Regions from separate parts of the Homo sapiens genome. Here region 1 is linked to region 2. Evidence: promoter capture Hi-C in human tissues and cell types (Jung and others, 2019). All regions are on one chromosome and are shown on one strand. Each heading gives the region's core, a stretch centred on a gene start or on the middle of the fragment in contact. The rest is flanking DNA. Distances are from core to core; before and after follow the strand shown.

What was found. Contacts are between HindIII fragments. The study calls those that stand out against the background at their distance.
Region 1: a contact is called between the fragment with the promoter of NUP160 here and a fragment that was not itself captured in region 2, in 1 of the 25 tissues and cell types used here (hippocampus).

The regions. Positions count from the first base shown.
Region 1 is chr11:47,845,489-47,850,087 of GRCh38, forward strand. It overlaps NUP160 (nucleoporin 160), which reads right to left and starts at 2,862. Exons shown (of 36, transcript NM_015231.3): 1 at 2,731-2,862; 2 at 2,360-2,471. The coding sequence starts at 2,830. RefSeq lists an enhancer at 2,800-3,359. The HindIII fragment of the contact is 15,264 bases long and covers 1-4,599 here.
Region 2 is chr11:47,233,424-47,238,084 of GRCh38, forward strand. DDB2 (damage specific DNA binding protein 2) reads left to right here. Exons shown (of 10, transcript NM_000107.3): 5 at 1,150-1,249; 6 at 1,334-1,511; 7 at 1,847-1,989; 8 at 4,414-4,578. Among named protein-coding and RNA genes, the nearest start is that of ACP2, 13 kb to the right of the region's middle. The HindIII fragment of the contact is 6,251 bases long and covers 1-4,525 here.

The DNA.
Region 1 (4,599 bases), core at 1,612-4,111, 610 kb after region 2:
CCTGAATTCTTTCTTGTGCGAGATCCAAGAACCCTCCCTTGGGGTCTGGATCGGCACCCTTTTCCTGTAACAAAACTGCATGTACTTGGGGTTTTTTGGTTATTGTTGTTGTTGCCTATCTTCCTCCATAAGAGTAGGGACTTTGTTTTGTTCCCTGCTATATCCCTGTTCCCTAAAAACGGACTGAAATACATTAGGCAAGCAAATTTTCTTTCTTTCTTCCTGTTTTCTTAAAAGAGATGGGGTCTTACCCTTTTTCCCACCTGGAGTGCAGTGGCATGATCGGATCCTCCCACCTCAGCCTCCTGAGTAGTTAAGATGAAAGGCACACGCTACTCCGCCTGGCTTATTTTAAAAAATCAGGCTGGACACGGTGGCTTACGCCTGTAATCCTAGCAAGTTGGGAGGCCGAGAACGGGGCACTGCTTGAGTCTGGCAGTTCAAGACCAGTCTGGACAACAAGGCAAAACCCCATCTCTACAAAAACAAATAGAAAAATTAGCTGGGCATGGTGGTGCATACTTGTAATTCCAGCTACTTGGGAGGCTGAGGTGGGAGGGTCACTTGAACCCAGGAGGCGGAGACTGCAGTAAGCCATAATTGCACCAATGCACTCCAGCCTGGACAATGGAGCCAGACTGTCTCTCAAAAAGAAAAAAAAAAAAAAGCAGAAAGAAAAAAAAATTTTTTTTGTAGAAATGGGGTCTTGAACTCCCGGCCTCAAGAGATCCTCCCACCTCAGCCCCCCAAAGTGCTGGGATTACAGGTGTGAGCCACTGTGCCCAGCCAAAATATTTAATTAAATGAAATTTGTATCTCTAACATAAAGTCACTCTTTTGAGCCTTAGACCTGTAAACTTCAATGCCTACTTGACATTTCCAAAGGGCTGCTCCCCAGGTACTTCAAATTTACTATGTCCAATAGAATTATTCATATCTATCCAAAATCCATCTTCCGGGTATCTCTGTAAATGGCAACCCCTCCCCACTCACATCTGGTTAGTCACATGAGACACCAGGGAGCTGTCCTTGTTCTCTCTTCTTTTACCATCCCTTACCCCATATTCAATCCACCACCAAGCCCTAGTGAATCTATCTTCCAAAGGTATCTTGAATCCATCTACTTTTCTATTTCTAGTCATTCCCACAATTGAGCCACCAGCAACCCTTACTTGGGCCATGATAAAAGCAAAATTTTTTTTGTATTATACCCATCTAATCCAAATCCACTTTCCACAAAGTAGACTGAGATCTTCTAAAAATACATTTAAAAAAATTTAGATTCAGGGGTACATGTGCAGGTTTGTTACATGAGTATATTGTGTGTATATTCCTATATACATGAGGTTTGGGCTTCTGATGATCCTGCCGCCCAAGTTGTGAACACAGTATCCGATAGGTTTTCCAACCTTTGCTCCCCTCCCTCCCTCCTTTTGGAATCCCTAGTGTTAACTGTTCCCATCCAAAAATGCAATTTTGATGTTAGTAACTCTTTAAAAATCTTTCAATTATTACTCAATGTACTTAGGATAAAATCCAAAAATCCTTAAAAATGGCCTAAGGGTCCCTCATGGTCCGAGTCCTGCCTACCTCTCCAGCCTCAGTATCTCACATCACTTTCTGTTTTACCCACTGCACTTAAGCCACACAGATCTTTGGTCAGTTCCAAACCCGCCACATTCTTTCCACTTCATGACCTTTGCATATGGTGATCCTACTTGCTGGACTCCTCTCTGTCCACTCCCCATGCCTGGCTAACCTCGTGTCCTTTAGATCTCAGGGTAACTGTGAATTCCTTAAAGCCTTTCCCTGCCCCACTAATTATATTTGGTCCTCTTATTAGCCTCTCATAACCCGTATATTTTTCCTCTAGGGCAAGTTTTCCTCCAAAAAATTTCCCCATGAAAAGTGGGTCTACATCTATTCTGACATTGCTACAACGTCTTGCATGATGAAAATTGCAGTTTTGTTCATTTCGTCCTGGTACCTAGCACAATGCCTGACATATTGAAGCTCGAACGTATTTGTACAATGAAGGAAGCTGTAAAGCACTATAAAAACATAACGGGTTCATGTTTAAAATTGGTCTTATGGGCTTTATTCCCCTAAGCTACATTTCCTCTGCTTCTGGTGTTGCTTGGTGTATGTGTGTGTGGGGGTGGGGGGGGGGAGGGGGAGAGGTATCTCTTCTAGAACTCTGTGTCTCAGTTTTCCCGATTCTGATACGAACTGAAAAAACAATCTTTCTCTTTCCCTAAGTGTCAATTACCGCTTCTAGAATAGCACTTTGGGTACAGCGACGAAAATTTATACACCAAACCCTACCTTCCAGGGGAGTTTGGCGAACCACAACACTTACCAATGAATGAACCTGTTTCTGGTTACGGAGAACAACTTGCCACTCTCCACGTAGTAAAAGCCTCCCGCGCTTTCACTGTATTTTACGGCGCCAGCCACGGCATTTGCAGTCCCTGCAAAATGAACGTGGTCAGCCTGCACACGCGTCTTCTGAGAAATGACAGGGACTAAGGGAGCTGACAAAGCAGAGAGTGACAGACTGACAACCCATACAAAGAAAAGAGGAAAACGTCGGACATCAAGGAATCTCTGATCCCGGGGCTAGAGGCATGTGGACTCAGGAGGATGAAACAGGGCGTCAGGGACCCTGGGACCCATGAGAGGAGCCCGAGGGGACAGATGGGATCGCACCCTCCCTGGCCATTTCCGTACCAATGCTGCAGACTGTGAATTCCCGAAAGTGCCTCGGCCTTTCGCGCTCAGCTCCGCTTAGCTCCACGAAGCTCCGTTCCAGGGCTCCCGCCGCCGCCATCTTCCCGCCGTCGCCGCGACGCCCAACGGAACAAAGGCAGGGCCGCGCGGTCGCCGTCACTTCCGGGGGTGGGGCGGGCGGAGCTGCGGACAGGTGAAGCATTCCGGGAGCAGAAAGGCGGCTCCGGCCCTTCGTTGCGAGGCTTCCACCGGGAGAATGAGGGTGGGCAGCGAGGAATCCAGAAGAGAAGGGGGCAGGGGAGGCAGACTCTATCTGCGGGAACCTTCCAGTGGCCGGCTGGAACGCCTCCGGAGGGCGGTGCTCTTTTCTCAGCGGCCGCAGGGCAGGGGGCGGGGCCGGGTTTGTTTCTGTTTCTAAAACGCGGGGCTCAGTCGACCAGGAGGGGCGAGGTCCGGGGAGTCCCGGCCTTTCGGCGTCCTCTGCCGGATCCCGGGTTTATGGTCACCTCTCCCTCGGTTAGGGTGTCCGTCTGTAAATCTTTGGCGATCCTCCCTTCGCTCTTCAGTGGCGACACTTGGGATGGCGGGGTGAGGAAGGGGTAGTGAGGGAAAGGCCTTTGGTTTTGGTCTTTCCCCTCCCCAAGAGACTGTATTCGTGTATTCCTGTATAATGAAACGTAATGTGGTAAACCTTGGTGCTGCCACTTGCTGAGGTTACCTGAGTGCTACTCACTTGGATACGTGAAAGGAATTTGCCATTCCTTCCACCCGTGATCTTGCACTTGGCTGTCAATGCAGTAAGGGCCCATAGTGGGTGTTTAGAAGATATTGTGGGAGTAGATGTTCAAAATCGAGGAAAATGCTAATCTCCAGCGGGGAAGGTTTTGTTCCTTAGTGATAGCCAATAGAAGTTAAAGCACTTCTATTACCAGTGACCACAACCATTCCCTGTCATTCTCCGTTTCATTTATCTGGTTCCGACCATCATTTTCTATCTTTCCACTTCACTCCCTCTGGGACACCAACTTTGGCAGTGCAGTCCCCTCATTCTACCTGGAATCCATTGTTCTACAAAATCTTCACTGTCCCACACTTCTTTGGTGTTTCTTTCTTATCCTGAATACCATTAAATTACTTCATTGCCTAACTCTTCATCGGTAAAAACTACAACTTCGACTACATTCAAATCTGTAGCTGAACATGACTGGAGAAAACTATACACCCGGGTCGGGCGTGGCTCCCAGCATTTTGGGAGGCCAAGGCGTGAGGATCACTTGAGGTCAGGAGTCCGAGACCAGCCTGGCCAACATGGTGAAACCCGGTCTCTACCAAAAATAGAAAAATTAGCCGGGCGCGGTGGCTCACGCCTGTAATCCCAGCGCTCTGGGAGGCAGAGGTGGGTGGATCACGAGGTAAGGAGTTTCAGACCAACCTGGCCAACATGGTGAAACCCTGTCTCTATTAAAGATACAAAAAATTAGCCGGGCATGGTGGTGCACGCCTGTAATCCCAGCTACTCGGGAGGCTGAGGCAGGAGAATCGCTTGAACCTGGGAGGTGGAGGTTGCAGCGAGCCAAGATCGCGCCACTGCACTCCAGCCTGGGTGACAAAGCGAGACTGTCTCAAAAAAAAAAAAAAAAAGAAGAAAGAAAAAAAGAAAAATTAGCTGGGCATGATGGTGCGCTCATGTAATCCCGGCTACTTGGGAAGCTGAGGCAGGAGAATCGCTTGAACCCGGAAGGTGGAGGTTACAGTGAGCCAAGATCTCGCCGTTGCACTCCAGCCTGGGCAACAAGAGCGAAACTCCGTCTCAAAAAAAGAAAAGAAAGAAAACAGAAAACTATACACCCATACTGACATGCCTCCCTG
Region 2 (4,661 bases), core at 150-2,649:
GGCCGGGTGCAGTGGCTCATGCTTGAAATCCCAGCACTTTGGGAGGCCAAGGTGGGTGGATCACCTGAGGTCAGGAGTTCGAGACCAGCCTGGCCAACATGGTGAAACCCCCATCTCTACTAACAATACAAAAAATTAGCTGGGCGTGGTGGTAGGCCCCTGTAATTCCCAGCTACTTGGGAGGCTGAAGCAAGAGAATCGCTTGAACCCAGGAGGCAGAGGTTGCAGTGAGCCGAGATGGCGCCATTGCACTCCATCCTGGGCAACAAGAGCGAAAATCTATCTCAAAAAAAAAAAAAAAAAATTACAGAATACTCGTCACTTTGATTTCCAGCTAGAGCCGTGACTCTGACTGCTCCCTGAGGAATTAAGTGAGGGTGCTGGGGTGTAACTAGCATTGGATTGGATCCTGGGCTGTCCCGCAGGGATGAGGAGTGCATGCGCACGCAAATCAGCAGGCAATTGGATAGACAAGGCTCCAGGCTACTCTTCCGCAAGAAATCTTCCTGCTTGAAGATATTCATAGGGGATGGCAAAAGGCAGTGTAGCATGGATTTGAGAGTTTGAGAGAAAAACTGTGAGCTGAGCTCTTCTGGCTGAATAGCAGGATCCCTGAAGCACCCTCCTAGTCAGCCTCCCAGTCCAGTGGTTTGAGGGACCAGAAGAGCTCCTGGTTGTGTTTTTTCCCCCAGTGTTCAGAAGGGGGCAGAAGTGCTTTTCTAGCCAGCTCTGAGGAACAGGGCCAGGCAATCCCTCTTTGGCTTGTGTCTCCTTTGGCCTAAAGGGTGAAGAGTGAAAGGAGAGAGCAGTAAAGGAGGCTTGCTCAGAACCCGGGGTGTGGGGGGCAGGCGTGCCTCAGGGCTTGCTTTATGGTATAAGCTTTGTCTGCTTCAGGGACTTTTAGGAGCTGGGGATCCTGGGCCCAGCCATAACCAGACAGATTTCTGAGCCCCATTATCCCATCCCCTCTGTCTGGACGGTAGAGCAGTCTGAATGTTCCTCACTAGGAATCCACGGCAAGACAGTTATTCATTCATTCAACAAATATTTATTGAATGCCCGCTGTGGGTTAGTCACCGGAGCGGCAACAGTGAGTAAATAGGACTATCTCTGTCCCCAAGAATCTTACAACACAGTCTCTCCCTCCAGCATCTGGTTTTGTAGCCTGGATGTGTCTGCTAGTAGCCGAATGGTGGTCACAGGAGACAACGTGGGGAACGTGATCCTGCTGAACATGGACGGCAAAGAGGTGCGTTCTCCGAGGTCCTGCCTTTCCCTCCCTCACCCCCACCTCGGTTCTGTGTCCCCACCTGAACCGAGCTCTTCTCTGCAGCTTTGGAATCTCAGAATGCACAAAAAGAAAGTGACGCATGTGGCCCTGAACCCATGCTGTGATTGGTTCCTGGCCACAGCCTCCGTAGATCAAACAGTGAAAATTTGGGACCTGCGCCAGGTTAGAGGGAAAGCCAGCTTCCTCTACTCGCTGCCGCACAGGCATCCTGTCAACGCAGGTGTGATATCCCAGACCTCATCTCTCCTGCAGACCCTGCCTGTCTGACCACTGCTGGGGTTTTCCCTCAGTGTGGAAGCCACTACGTCAAACCTTTACCCCTGATAGCGTCTGCCAAGCTGATGTCTGGGAACCTTTGTGGCTGTGGCTGTCCCCATCAGCTGCTGAGTTTCCAGAATTTTTTTGTTGTTGTTCACAGCCCAGATTCACCTCTTCCTTTCCGCTCCTGTCTAGAGAGGAGTGGGAGGGAGAGTACCCCTGCAGGAGAAGGCCTGCAAGGCCAGGACCACAGAGGGCTTGTGGTTCCTTCAGCTCAGGGGCTTTTCACTTTGCCAGCTTGTTTCAGTCCCGATGGAGCCCGGCTCCTGACCACGGACCAGAAGAGCGAGATCCGAGTTTACTCTGCTTCCCAGTGGGACTGCCCCCTGGGCCTGATCCCGCACCCTCACCGTCACTTCCAGCACCTCACACCCATCAAGGTGAGTGGCGGTGGGAAGGAGCTCGCAGAAGGAGGCTGTGATCATGAGGCCGGAGCAGGTCTGCCCACAGTGGGGAAGGGCTGATGTGGTAAGCCTGCCACCCCAGATCGCTCCTGGCCCGAGCACAGAGCATCTCTTACCCATTGGCTCTCTCTCTTCCTTTTATCCCACTTCTGCCATCCCATATGGTTGAGTTTTCTGTCTCGCTGATAAGATATTTTTCTGAGTTTTTTCAGCCCAGCTCTGATCTCACTGTGAGAATTTTCTAAGATCCTGACCCTCTGTTCTGTCTTCTCAGCTTCAGTTACCTGTGTACAGTTGACCCACAAACCTTCATTTTTTATTTTTTTATTATTTTTTTTAAGGCAGGGTCTCGCTCTGTCACCCAGGTGGGAGTACAGTGGGGCAAGCATGGTTCATTACAGCCTTGATCTCCCAGGCTCAAGCGATCCTCCTGCCTCACTTTTTTTTTTTTTGTAGAGACAGGGTATTCTTGTGTTACCCAGGCTGATCCTTTTTTTTTTTTTTTTTTTTTTTCTTGAAACGGTCTTGCTCTGTCACCCAGGCTGGAGTGCAGTGGCACAAACATAGCTCACTGCAGCCTCAACCTCCTGGGTTCAAGCAATCCTTCCGCCTTAGCCTCGGAAGTAGATTGGACTACAGGTATGCGCCACCATACCCAGCTAATTTTTTTATTTTTTATAGAGATGGGGTTTTGCCATGTTGCCCAAGCTGGTCTTGAACTCCTAGGTTGAAGCCATCCCCCAACCTTGGCCTCCCAAAGTGCTAGGATTACAGGCATGAGCCACTGCGCCTGGCAACTTTGCCTTCTTAGTTTGTCTTGCAGGTTTCAGTGCTTCTAATAATAAAAATAAGTCTTTTATTTTCCCACCTTTTCTCAGGCTCTTGTTAATAGCTTCTCTATCATTAGTCCCCAACACTAATAGCTTTCAAGTCCTTTGATGCCTTTTTGCCTAAGCCCCCATGCAGACTGAGCTCTGCTAGTTCTGCATTCTTTTCCAAAACTACAGATCCTCTTCAGATCTTCAGGTTTTATGCCTATACTTCTCTGGTCAGTTCAGAATAGTGGTGGGGAGCGCCAGTTTCCAGCAGCCAGACCCCCCGGGTTAGAATCCTTGGGCAAATTACTTATATTTTGGATCTGTTTCCTCATCTGCAAAAAGGGAATACTAGTCTCTAACTGATAGGGTTGTTGTGAAGATGAGTCAGTATACTTAAAGCACTTGGCCCCATGCCCAGCACCTGGTAAGTACTGGTAAGTATTCAATAAATGATGATTGAATATTGAGTGGCCCCCACGTACCTCAATCACATCCAAGCTCTTAATAAATAATGTCAAGAATCCTTCCCCAGTTGGTGTTCCTGTTAATCCATCAGTGTTCCCGATAATCCATCTGTCTGCATGTCCCAGTTTGTATCTAGCCAGGTGTCGTAAGTCATTACAGCTTCCTGTGTGTGATTTGTGACTTATTTCTAAGCCTTCGCATGTACTATTTCTTCCTTCCTGCTAACCATGTCTTTCTTCCTTCAAAACTTCCTTGAGAAGTTTAGGAAAATCCCATCCAATTCTGCCATTTTAATAACTGCCAGATTTGTTTTTAGTGGGGTGATCTGGGGAATGTGGGTTTCCTTCTCTTTTTTAGCCATTAGCAATTTTACACTCAGCTCTTAGTTATTCGTGTTGATGGAGACAGGATGACAGTGGGGCTCCTCCAGAACTCAAGTCCTGTTAGGGTTTGGTCACCAGAGGCTTTTTCTGCTTTGTTGTAGGCCTCTTAGGTCAGTATCTGGGTCAGGCTGATGTTAAAACGTTTACCAGTTGGTATGATCTTAGGAAATGCAAATGAGGGAGAAGGCCTGAAGGTGCCCTAAGGGCCAGGGAGGCCAGCTAGGGATTAAAAATGTGCAATGGCAGAGGCACACACAACCTAAAACCATTCTTGTAGTTTTCTGTAAGACTTATCTCCATTATTAGGTTGGCTTGTTACTGGCAAATACTACTTTTTTTTTTTTTTTTTTGAGAGTCTTGCTCTGTCACCTAGGCTGGAGTGCAGTGACATGATCTTCACTCACTGCAACCTCCGCCTCCCGGGTTCAAGTGATTCCCCTGCCTCAGCCTCCCAAGTAGCTGGGACTACAGGCATGTACCACCACGCCCAGCTAATTTTTTTTTTGGTATTTTTAGTAGGGACGGGGTTTCACCATGTTAGCCAGGATGGTCTCGATCTCCTGACCTCGTGATCCGCCTGCCTCAGCCTCCCAAAGTGTTGAGATTACAGGTGTGAGCCACTGCACTCAGCCCAAAGAATACTTTTGATGTTCCTCTTTGTTCATATTTGTTTTTGATGTCCCCCTTGATCATGTTCTGTGTTTACCCTCATGGCCGGCCTCTCCATCTCCTAGGCAGCCTGGCATCCTCGCTACAACCTCATTGTTGTGGGCCGATACCCAGATCCTAATTTCAAAAGTTGTACCCCTTATGAATTGAGGACGATCGACGTGTTCGATGGAAACTCAGGGAAGATGATGTGTCAGCTCTATGACCCAGAATCTTCTGGCATCAGTTCGGTGAGGCTTGGGTCCTCAAATAATGATGGGAGGAAGCAGGGATTCAACCTACCTTATTGACCAAAAGTGACCAGAAATCAGGT